Regions from separate parts of the Homo sapiens genome. Here region 2 is linked to region 1. The links are contacts of gene promoters, found by promoter capture Hi-C in blood cells and fetal thymus (Javierre and others, 2016). All regions are on one chromosome and are shown on one strand. Each heading gives the region's core, a stretch centred on a gene start or on the middle of the fragment in contact. The rest is flanking DNA. Distances are from core to core; before and after follow the strand shown.

Evidence for each region. The method cuts DNA at HindIII sites, captures the fragments that hold promoters and counts their contacts. A CHiCAGO score of 5 or more calls a contact.
Region 2: a contact is called between a fragment that was not itself captured here and the fragment with the promoter of SV2C in region 1, in 1 of 17 cell types (naive CD8 T cells). The highest score is 5.1, in naive CD8 T cells.

Annotation. Positions count from the first base shown.
Region 1 is chr5:76,079,949-76,086,412 of GRCh38, reverse strand. It overlaps SV2C (synaptic vesicle glycoprotein 2C), which reads right to left and starts at 3,030. Exons shown (of 13, transcript NM_014979.4): 1 at 2,901-3,030. It overlaps SV2C-AS1 (SV2C antisense RNA 1), which reads left to right and starts at 2,996. Exons shown (of 2, transcript NR_183290.1): 1 at 2,996-3,494; 2 at 4,017-5,007. It also overlaps the pseudogene LOC100132039. RefSeq lists an enhancer at 3,666-4,219. The HindIII fragment of the contact is 14,928 bases long and covers 1-6,464 here.
Region 2 is chr5:76,640,184-76,646,152 of GRCh38, reverse strand. It overlaps IQGAP2 (IQ motif containing GTPase activating protein 2), which reads right to left. Exons shown (of 36, transcript NM_006633.5): 17 at 5,050-5,220. Among named protein-coding and RNA genes, the nearest start is that of F2RL2, 20 kb to the right of the region's middle. The HindIII fragment of the contact is 9,128 bases long and covers 1-5,969 here.

The DNA of each region.
Region 1 (6,464 bases), core at 1,781-4,280:
ATATGAATAACAACAGTGGGCTGGTTAAGGAGCCATTTTGACAAATCACATGCTTTTATTCATACAATATGTCATCAAGTTTGCTTAAGAATAAGAGATAACACTCCTAATTATAGGAAATGGGTTTTCTGGTACTTGTCGTCACGTGATATATTGCACATTATGATGCCTTTGCCGTAATCTCCTGGAGACTGGGAACTGGATCCTATTATTTGAAGCATTTCCACACTTAAGGAATATGATAGGGTTAATAATGAATAGGAGTTTTACTACAAGCTGTTAGGCCAGTCTGCTGCTCAGATCAGAGAAGCTACTTTCACTGTCATTGGGTCATGAAAAATAAAGCTGATTTCTCCACTACATGAACAAAACACTCAGATGTGATCCAGAGCTTCTTTTTTTCCTTCTCCAGACAGTCAGTAGCTAATGGCATTGGATTACATATTAGACTGTTAGGAAAAGTCTGCTGTCTGCATTTGCTCACATTGAGGGCCAAATTTCATTAAAAAAACAATGCTGGGAAAAGTCTCTAGAATTTTTTAAAAGAAAATTCTGTGTGTGTGTGTGTGTGTGTGTGTGTGTGTGTAGGGGCTTTGTTTGCTAATATTTTCCATTCATGGAAAATTTGTATTTCCAAAGCCAAAGCTCTCTGAGATTATCTCTTTTGTCTTCAAAACAACCCTGTAAGGTACATAAGAGCTAGTATAAGCTATTTTTCACAATTCTCAGAGGTGGAAGATGAACCCAAGAGGGTGAGTAACCTGCCCAAGGTGACATAACACAATATTTGGGGAAATGGTGACTAGCATCTGTGTCTCTGGGTTCCTTGATAATTGCTTTTCTTCCTCCCTCCCTTCCTTTCTTTCTTTTTTCCCAACCCCGTCCCCTTTCATTCATTTTGCCTACATACTGCAGATTTGGGCTCCTTCAGTAAAGCCAGTAGAAAAACTTTGTCACTGGGTTTCCAGAAAGTGGTCTTTAAAAAAAAGAATAAAATGGATCGTGGATTTGATTTATTATTTTCCACCAGAGAATGCGTTATCAGTAGTGTTTTTTAACGCGTATTTTTATGCCATGAAAGAGGAATGCGGCATATTGTTTTGTAAGACATTCTTAAACCTCACTTAGAGGCCAGGCCTCCTGCCAAAAATCCTGCAGAATGGTGGCGCAACGGGTTGGCACTACAGAACCTCACGAACCTCAACACCTAGGCGTTCACATGAAAACTTCCCACGAGCACGAGGCCTTTCGGAACTTGCCATGGAAAATGAGTGAACGCCTGAGAGATTAATGCCACATTCTTCAGAATTAAGGATAAGAATTAAACGGAAGCTACCGCGCTAGCAGTCAGCTAAGTATGAAGGGATTAGGTTCAGCGGGAGAGGAGACCATCACGGCATCCCGGTCTCATCTCCTTAAGGCTCTCATGAGCCTTAAAAGACGCCTCATCTCCTCGGTCCCCCGGGGAGCGCCCGGTAGCTGCGGCTCCTTCCCGGCACTGCGGCGCACTGCGGAGCCGCCTGCCCGCCAGCCCAGGCCGTGCGGGGCTTTCCTCGCCGCCCCGCGCCGCCGCAGTCCTCCCGCCCCCCTCTGCCCCGCCGGGTCGCCGCTCTCCGCGCCAGGCGCGCCGCGGGGCATCCATCAACCCAGAGCTTTTGACGCACACACGCGCGCTCCCAGACGGAGACTCCGTCGCCTGCCCCCGCCCGCCACCCCCGCCCGCCCCTCGCGGGTCTGCATTTGCATCACTCGCACACGTAGAAGGTGACGCGAGCGCCCCCAGCTCAGGCCGTCCAGGCGGCACCTCTAGCCCCCGTGGCTCAGCCCCTCCCCCCGCCCCCGCGCGCCGCCTAAGGTCCCCGCACGCCCACAGATCTGCTCCCGATTGTTCATCTGCCGTGGGGTGCTGGCTGCCCCAAGCCAAGTTCATCCCCGTATTCCGCAGTCCCCGTGGGCCCAGCCCGGGGCGCTCCCCGCGACGCTCTGGAGAAAAGTCTTCCCAGTTCTAGAACCCAGGCGGAAGGGGAAAAGCCCACTAAGAGAAAGGGTCAGAGGGTCGGCTGATGGCTTTTGCTGCCCTCATCGCCATCTAAGATTACCTCGGTAGCTTATTTACTGCGATTGGTCCCTCTCCCCTCTGAGCTTCACAGCCTCGGGTCTGCTTCGCCTGGCCTGGCGCACAGCAGGCGCCCAAAAGGTTTTTGCTGAATGAAGGCGTTGTAACGTAGGAAGTGCAGGCGCTGACAAAGAGCCTCAGCCCCGCGGGCTCCCCTGCTCTCCAGCCCTCTCTTGCTCTCTCTTAGACGCCAGACAGGCGCTTCGGGAATGTATGTGGGAGAGTTTGAAAATTCATGGTGTTTCTTTCAGGCTCTCTCAGCACTTACTGCGGCTACCTCTGCTCTCCCGCCACCTGCACGTCTGCAGAGGGATCCCCGCCGAAAAGTTGAGCCTAAGGCAGCTATGAAGGTATAGGTCCAGGTACCCAGCCCGGGGCTCTAGGCTGCTAGATTTGAATCTGCCTATCCCTGCCGGTCAAACCACACAAGCAAAAAAGAGCGTGGCGGTCGCTGCAGATGCGGCCCCTGCATCCCCGCTGCTGCCCACCCACCTCCTCTGGGAATCCCAGATAAAGTGCGACCCAGTCCCCAGACCTACCCTAGCGAACCCTGGGGTCACTGCATCTATTTTACCCCTACTTTCCTGGTCCCTCTCCAACAAAGGCGCCTACAAAGCAGCGGGCACCTGCAGCCGCTTCCCCGGGGGCAGGCGGGGCAAAGTTGCGCTTCCGAAAGGCTGCAAAAACTTCCCCAGGCTGCAGCGCCCGGCCACCAGTCGGGAAGAGAAATCCAGCAGCGGGGGAAAGTCTCCCCGCGGATGCCCGCTTCACCTCCCCCACTCACCGCTCCAGCCGTCGGACACCCTTGCCCTGAGTGGTGTCAGCACTGCAGCCGCCTCAGTGCGGGCGCCGCTCCGGCTCGCTTCCCCGGGCTGCCTCCGTCTGCCACTCTCGCCTGCAGCGCGCGGAGTGGTGACTCCTCTGAGCGTGTCAGCGGCGAGAGGAGGGGCGGGAAAGTGGCTCCCGGCTTGCACGCTGCGGTCCTCCTCCTCTCCTCCGCCTGCCTCCTCCCCCTGGTGCTGCAGTGCCGGGCGGCGGCGTGGCGAGAGTACCAGCGGTGCGCAGGGAGTCACGGCGCGCGGGGGAGGCGGGACCCGCGCGCCACTCGCGGTGCTCCGGCAAGTCGCGGTGCTGAGGCGCTGCTGCGGTGTGGGACTGGGGCAGGGGGCGGGGAAGGAGAGCCACCTCCAAGTGGTAGGTACTTCTGGAGAAGTCAGGGCTCTGAGTTTGTAGCAGGTGAAGGAGAGGGGCGGCAGTCCTTAATTAGTCACCAACTGTGACTGTGCGTTGCGCACTTGGCGGCGCCCCGGGTCAGGTCCAGCGTGAGACGCGAGGGAGTTCTGACTGCTGGACTCTGTTAGCACCGGACAAAAAGAGGGTTTGTATTCTATTTCCGGGCCTGGGACTGACTTGTTCACTTCGACTTGGCTTCCAGGGAGCAACCAGGCAGAGCTAGGTTGCCTACTTCCCCCAGCCCCCACCCCGACGCTGGAAGACAAGTCCAGAGGAAACTTGGGCACAGCAAGAGCAAACAGAAGAAAACTTCGCTGGGTTAAGTCTACTGTCTCCCCAATGCTACATAGGGCCAGACAGCTGGGCTCACAGGCAGATATTGAAAGTGGCCCCTTAGAGGGGAAACAACCAAATATGAGGGGGGGGGGGTGGAGAGAGAGATAGAGAGAGAGAGAGGAGGAGGAGGAAGAAAGAAAGAAAGAAAGAAAAAGAGAAAGAAAGAAAGGAGGAGGAGGGAGAAAGAGAGAGGAGAGAAGAGAGAGAGAGAGGGAGAGAGAGAGAGAATTTTGCTTGTGTTGTTAGAAACAAACATTTCTCCCCTTGGCGTGCAGGAGAGAGAATTTTGCTTGTGTTGTCAGAAACAAACATTTCTCCCCTTGGCGTGCAGGAGACCCCAACTCGAGCTTCACTGTTCCAAAGCGGTGGGCCAGGCGGCTGGAGAGAAACTCGCTCCCGTGAGGCCACACCCAGGCCTGGCGCACCCACCCCGCGGCAGCAGTGGAGGGCGTCGCCCTCCCGGGCCTTCCGACGCAGACCCTGCCATCCGGATGCTGCGGGAAGTAGGGCATCCTCACGTCCCTGACTCCTCCGGCTCCGCGCGCTCACGGAACCCAAGTGGAGTGGGAAGCGGTCACACAGGCGTGTGCCGTCCCCGAAATCGTTGCTCCTGTGGTGGTGACCCAAAGCGAGACAAAGCGCCGCGCCAATACGGGCTGCAGTGATTGGAACTCAAACACACACATCTCTCCGCGAATGTGTTCCATCCGTGTAAATATGCCTGGGTGATTGAATGGATGGCTGAATGAACGCTGTGTGGATAGAAATATAAATGTTACATGTATAATACAGGCGCCGGGGAAGGAGAGCTGTCAGGCACCCCCAGGCTGGAGCCTCCTGCCCAGAGGAGCCGGTGGAGACAGGCGGTTCGCCCAGGGCGGTGTTGTTAGCTTGGGCTTTCCAGTTCGATTTGTGCCACTATGCAGGATACTGTGAAGAGAAGAAAATGGAGACAACTCTTGGCCTCTCATTTTCCCTCCTCTCTGGTTCAGACACTCTGGCACTAAAAGTTATGATTCTCATGTGCTGTTGAACCTACACTTCCTTGCTGGTCTGTCTTGTTCCGGTGAGAGGCTTTGCAGTCTGTGACCATGGTGCTATGAGATGGTCAGGCAATATGAAAATTAGTGAACGTGCTCATTTTCATTTCGTGGATTCTTCTTAGTAAAATAATTATTTAAATAGTTAAATAATTTAAATAGTTAAATAATTTAAATAATTATTTAGGCTAAAATTAATGTGCTGCTACTATGACAAGGAAGTGCCTATGAATCCAGCATTGGAAATACAATTGTGAAATTAAAAAATAAATCCTATCTGGATTCCCCGCATGTTATTTATAAAAATTTGAGCTTCCAACTGCAAAATGTGCTGGCAATTCACTGAGTTCTCAAACGGTTACCTTTTTGAGAACCTCCCCTAAACTGTTGCAGAATAATGGATTGTTTCTCCAAGTGATGGAAGTTCAGAAAACCATGAAACAAACTTTAAACGTGATCAACGTTCTTTATGCTATGCTGTATCTTCCTTAAATTATTCTCCTATCTTGTCCGTGGAAGATATTTTTTTAAAGTGGGTTGATTTTTCTACTTCTGGATTTTCGTGTCTTGATGCATTTGAAGGTAACAGCTCCTTTAGGAAAATCCCTGATTGTGATTTTGCCTGAAACATCCCATTTAAGACCAGGTTGCACTGGAAAAGGCTATTTTAACGTTGTGTCTTTGGAGGACATGAAACATTGTGTCATGATGATGTTGTGCCCTGGTTCCTGGACTTGCCCTCTAAAGCAGTTCTGGTTCTAGGGTCCTGCCTGGCACACACCTTGGCCCCAGGCCCCTTGGATCCAGCACTCAGACTAGTTTTATTCATGCCTTCATTATAATGAAATGTTTTCTCTCTTCTGAAAACACTTGTCTTGTAGAAGCGGATGGAGTGAAAAGGGGTATACCCTCCATCCCCACAGAATCCCAGTACTCTAAAGTCATTGCTCTCCTACACCTCAGGACTTTTGTTCCTCAATGCAGGGTGTCGTCTTGTGATGCTAAAAAACAAGCTGTGAAAGACACCTAATGAGCATGAGAGGTCTGTTTTCGCATCAGCAAAGTGGTTTTCATAAAAATAATTCACACTAAGTACAGATGCTATAGTGGTTATATTTTATAATATACACAAGAAGCACAGTGCCTAGTACACAATGGGTATAGAATAAATGTCAGTTGCTCTTCCTCTTTTAGTAGTCAGGGCAAGGTTTTCCAAAGCCTGCGCTTTGGAGAACTGGTTTTGTAAGATGCTCTGGAAAGTCAGAGTTACACCTGGCTTCCACAGCAGATGTCTGAAGACAGCCCCATACTCTTGGACCAAGTCCACACAGCTCTCCACTTCTCCTCACTATCATCAGGAGTCTATAGCAAAGTGCAGACACCTACTCTTCTTACCCCAACACTCAGCTTCCACAACACTCAAAACTATTTTTTGTCTCTTTTGTAATTTTAATCGAAGTATTACTATTCATTTTTTTTAAACTCTGTCTTATAAGCACCACATTTTAATATCTAAGTCAATATTGGGTGAAAGAAACACCACCAAGAACTTCCCTCCAGAACAAAACAATGATGTTCATTCCTCCAAACATCCAAATTGAAAGTCTATCACAACCAAAACAAAAAAACAAAGCCCACGGAGAAATAAAAAGTAACAAAAATCACATTCTAGGGTGTTAGTGCATTTGGCAGTCTTTGCTGTGCTGTTGAACCATCCTTCAGCTGGCTTTCAAAAAAAA
Region 2 (5,969 bases), core at 2,383-4,882, 560 kb before region 1:
GTGTTGTGATGGATCTTAACAGTTCCTATATTTTGGTGGTTAACACTGGTTTAAAGCAGAGAAGTGCAATTGTTTGAATGTATATTATAAATTCCACTCCTTCCTTAGTCCATACTGAAAGGCTAAACAAGATAATTGGAATTAGCTCAAGTTCCTATTCTGCTCTTCTGGAATTACCTAAACTCCAAAAACACTTAATTTCAATTATCTGAGATTCGCAAACATTCTGAATAAGTGACCTGTCATAGTAACAGATTATTTAATATTGAATCATTCCTGCATTGGCAAAATTACCCCATTCGTCCATTCTGTTTTTTTTTTTTTAATATACTAAGGATTAACTATTTACCTTGAGAGCTCATTATTATGTTTCATCTCATAACTATTTATGTAAAATTTTCTGGTATTCTTCTATATTTATGAGTTTTTTTACGTTTCCAAACAAAGGCAGCTTGGCTGGGAATATAATTTTTTTGCTCCTGGATATGAAGAGACACTTCTCAAAAGAAGACATTTATGCAGTCAACAAACATGAAAAAAAGCTCATCATCACTGGTCATCAGAGAAATACAAATCAAAATCACAATGAGATACCATCTCACGCCAGTTGGAATGGCAATCATTAAAACGTCAGGAAACAATAGATGCTGGAGAGGATGTGGAGAAATAGGAATGCTTTTTACACTACTGGTGGGAGTGTAACTTAGTTCAACCATTGTGGAAGACAGTGTGGCAATTCCTCAAGGATCTAGAACCAGAAATACCATTTGACTCAGCAATCCCATTACTGGGTATGTACCCAAAGGATATAAATCATTCTACTATAAAGACACATGCACAAGTATGTTTACTGCAGTGCTGTTCACAATAGCAAAGGATTGGAACCAACTCAAATGCCCATCAATGACAGACTGGATAAAGAAAATGTGGCACACATACACCATGGAATACTATGCAGCCATAAAAAAGGATGAGTTCACATCCTTTGCAGGGACATGGATGAAGCTGGAAACCATCATTCTCAGCAAACTAACACAGGAACAGAAAACCAAACACCGCATGTTCTCACTCATAAGTAGGAGTTGAACAATGAGAACATATGGACACAGGGAGGGGAACATCACACACTGGGGCTTGTCAGGGGGTGGGGAACTAGGGGAGGGATAGCATTAGGAGAAATACCTAATCTAGATGGTGGGTTGATGGGTGCAGCAAACCACCATGGCACGTGTATACCTATGTAACAAACCTGCACATTCTGCACATGTATCCCGAACTTAAAGCATAATAATAAAAGAATTTTTTTGTTCCATAGAAGCAGAATACTACATGCCTCATCTTTCATTTGCCAAAATTCTGTTTTTCTTTTTTTAGTCTGTAAGTTTTAGTTCCTTTGAGATGAGCTTTTCCTATTATGTCCTAACAACAGAACTCTTGTGCATAGCCATGACATTGTAATCTCTTCTCTAATTAGAGGCTGTTTATTATAAGCAAATATGGGTATACAGTTGATATAAAGAAACTTTGAAAATTACAGACAGATGGGATTTACAGGCCAGGTGTGGTGGCTTATGCCTATAATCCCAGCACTTTGGAAAGCCGAGGCAGGCAGATCACTCGAGGCCAAGAGTTCAAGACCAGCCTGGCCAACATGGTGAAATTCTGTCTCTATAAAAAATACCAAAATGAGCTGGGTGTGGTGGCGCATGCCAGTAATCCCAGCTACTTGGGAAGCTGAGGCATGAGAATCACTTGAACCCAGGAGGTGGAGGTTGCAGTGAGCTGGGATGGTGCCACTGCACTCCAGCCTGGGCGACAGAGCAAGACTCTGTCTCAAAAAAAAAAAAAAAAAAAAAAGGATTTACAAAAATGGCAGTCTCATTCTCCTGCCTGGTATGGGAACTTGTGGGAAAATTTATAATAGCCATCTTATTTGTTTTGTTTTCTAGTACCATAAATATATTTTCTGTGCAGAGTATCTGTATAAAAGAAGTCTGTCAAAACGCTTAGACCTCAGAGGTCATTGCTCTATTTTATAGACTTTAACTATTACTCTCTGGGAAATCTGGCTTGATACACTGGCTGCTATGCTTGATAACTGGACACTCAGTATAGAGATATTCAAATTACCAATGCCAACTTCTGATGCACAGAATACTTGTGTGATCTCGGTTAGCCAAGAAAGCCCTAAACATTTACCTCTTCTCCCTCTCCTCAAAGGTAAAAAAAATCCAGCCATCTATAAGAGCAGTCGGTTACATTAAAACAACTGAGGACCGACTCTCCCAGGCCATCCCCTTCCTCTTGGCCCACAGACTCTGCCACTGCTCCTGGCGAAGTGAAGTTCCTTCAGAGTAGCTTGTTTTTCTTCACCAGGATGCTTGTGGCACTCCCTGAGCTGAAGTTCAATAATTCATTAATTCTCAGGGCTAAGTTTTGGTGTTTGCCACTATTATGTCCTTTCCTAAAAAGTAGTATACTAGCTTTCTTCAGTTCATGAAAAAAACTTCCTCCTGTAGTTACCTACTCTAATCCTATTTCATTTTTTTCTGATGTTTTCCTGTGCCACACCAACAATATCAATATTGGATCCCCATTATCTGCCTTCTGAGTCATTATCTCTATCATCTTACCATTTCTAAAGTTTATCAAGCACTTGAGAAGCAAATACTAGGAAACATCTGTTATGTGAATTATTCCAGTCAGTCTTCACCACCCTGCAATAAAATGGGCATTATATTTTTCAGATGAGAAAGTGTGTTTTTAGTCATCTATTCTTTCTCTCATCTTTTGTGGATTTTTCTGAAGTTTTTTGTGTCTGCTCCAATTATGTTCAGTGTCTAATTTGCATTCTGCAGTTATAAATTCATTTACATTCTATAACATCATTATTTCTCTTCCTCTCCTTAGCTGTCAGCTGTCTTTTCATTTTATTATTCTATTGTCTTCTTATTTCATTAAGTCCATGTCTTATCAAATTCCTTGACAGTATAAAGCAGCTTCAGTATAAAATTTTCTCCTGTCTTCTGGAAGAGTAACTCTAGATATCTACTCCACTTATATTTTACAAGTTACATTCCTTTTTCTATTTCTGATATAAAATCTTTTTTGTTTATGAACAGATTTTTTTTTCTGGCTCACTCAGGCAATTTTATCGGGGACTTCTAACTGCTCAAAAATAATATGGCTATGTAGATTCTCCTTGACTTCCTCTATATTGACCTGGGCACCTCCCAGTTAACTCCATAAGCACTTGAGACAGAATGCTGGATGTTGATCATGCTGCACATTCTCTGTACCACTACTCATTTCCTTGGCAGACCACTGATGGCAGGGAGGGTGGTGTAGCCGGAGTATAGCTGGCCTCGGCCTAGGAGTTTTGCCTTTGTATTTCTCTCCAAATGTGTTAAGACTACTGTGTCTGGGGGGCAGTTCAGCCAGCTAGGAAGCTCACAGTGTTTTACGTAGGGGACCTTCTCAGATATCAGAACATTTTCCTACTTGAAGGTGAACCAGCCACTTTGGTGAGAAATGAGATTAGCATGACACCTTTTGGTTCACAGTCTCTTGGTTTTATGGGTCAGCAGGTTCCTATTAACTGTATTATTCACTTCTGGTCCACATCTGTAAAGTAGGCTTACCTTTAGGCCTCATGCCCTCTGTTTTGGAAAATTGTCAGAAGACTGAAAAAAAGGCGTGGTGAGGTGACTTCATGGTTTGATGGCTGCTTCGTCAATTCTTTTGCCTCTGCTGAGGTGGAGGAAAAAGGCTCCAAATGATCGTTCCTGTCCTTACCCCATTTCTCTCATCCTTCAGCCCTGGTTTCTAATATAGAGGGATTCTGTACTGGTGGGCTCTGTGGTATATCTTCCAACTGCAACACTGCTGTGTGACCTGAGACTGGAGAGTGTGGGGTCCCAATTTTATATTGGCTGACACGTGAAATTTGTGCAAAATTAGAGTCTCATCAGTGTAGATGACTATTTTTAGGCTTTTGTTCACTTCCTGTGTGTTTTGCCTACTATTTGTTTAAAGGAATACATTGTAAACTCATTGGCCCACCTAGAAAAATCCTTTGAGTGTCAGATTTATAGTAGAAATTTCTTTTATAAAATTAATTATTTCTGCTTTGCTAATAATATCTTAAGCTCCAAGCAAATTTAAATATGTAAGCACCTATCATGTGCAAGATACAAGAAGACAAATGTTTGTAAAATTCATTTTCTGCCTTGGACATTACAGTTAGGTGGGAAAAGCAGATGAGTTCACCAGTGACCACACAAAAAAGAAGGTCTTCAACAGAAAAATGTTCAATTTAGGAAACTTCAAAGTAAAAACCCATCAGCATCAGACTTTACCAGTTGTTAATAATACCCCTTTGAACTCACAATAAAAAGAACAAACTCACAGCCTTTCACAAACCAGTGTGGTGACTGGTAGGGGGCGCTATAGGAATACAGAAGAGAAACATCTAAACCTGGCAAATTCTCCTGCCAATCAGAAAGTTTAGACAAGTCATGCAAACTTAAGAACAATTTATAGCAAAAAAATTGGGAATGAAGGTTTCTCCTGAAGGCCTAAATGAAGAGTGACAGATTACAGAAGGTAGAAGACATTCTTAGAGAGGCTAAATCTGTTTATTTCATTAGTTCTCCTGTTCTTTCAGGCTAGAACAGCACAGAAACTAAGACGCCACTCAACATCTACTAACCACAAAAAAGCCAAATTGTAAAGTCCCCAAGTCAGGTATGATTTCAACTCTGATCCAAGGTATATCCCTTTGGGTCCAACTAGGTTGGCAGCAGGTGGATCTGTGCAAATCTGCGGTGCTCCTAAATGCTCTCTAGAAGACCATAGGTTAAGTCATTCATCATCAAAATGCTTCCTATTTTAAAGCCTTAGTGAAGTAGACTAGGGGCACTGATTATGTAAAAATATGCAGTCAGATTTGTTTATAGGAATGCTGGTAGTTGACTATTCTATTATCAAATAAAACATTTTCAGGTGATATGACAGTTTTGTGTAAACAGTGGCAGGTGATCCACATACCTGTATTTTGACCACATTCTCTTCTTGTTCATGCAAAAATGATTTTCTAGCTTCAAACTCTTCCCTAAGGATGGGTCCTGAGCTTGTGGCTTGAAAGCGAAGAAGCAACTCTTCTGAAGCAGACCATATATTCTCACGAATGTAACCTACTGTGACTTCCTCAATAATGTCCTGGCAAGAGATATTTCTTATGGTTACACTTCACACATCAGCTGAAAGGCACACATAGAATAGCTTCTGATATTTTATCTTTTAGAAAATAATATGGATGTCTCCTTTTGGCTTGGTTTAAAAACAAATTTAAGCAGAGCTGAGGGATGAAACTGGCTTAACTTCTTTCTAGCAATATGATTTTGGAATCTCTGAGCTTGGTGCTGAGGTGGCAAGAGAATGCAGCTCAATGATCTCAGGATTTGGAGGCAGAGATGTATGGATGATGCTGGCAAGGACCAGGCATGAGGCCTGAGCTCCACAGAATGTAAAGGGACAAGGATGCTTGCTGTAAAAACATGCATCACCTCCCGCTTCCCTCGGACTGCCAAGGAAAAGACTGCAATGGCCATAAGGTCCTCAGACTTCTTTCCCATTTCTTCCCCAGGCCAGAGTAGGCAGACCCCTGTAACGAGCTGTGGCCAAACTCAGAATGATGCTCTGGGGCAAAAGACAAAGGGGTGGGAGAGGCAAGATAAGTGCTATTAAGGATAGAGAGCAGAAATCTAGAAGAATGAGAAAAAAGGAAGAAGGGGGTTATAAGAAAGTTTCATGTGGGGTATGAACAGGGTTTACTTTTATGCCCGATGAGAGATGCAAAGAAAGACTGGACTGTCACTTCTACAGCTGATGACTCTTATCTAGTACAACTGGAATTAATGGTTGGTTAACTTAAAGAGCTAAAAGTGAAATCATACCAAAGATGCATA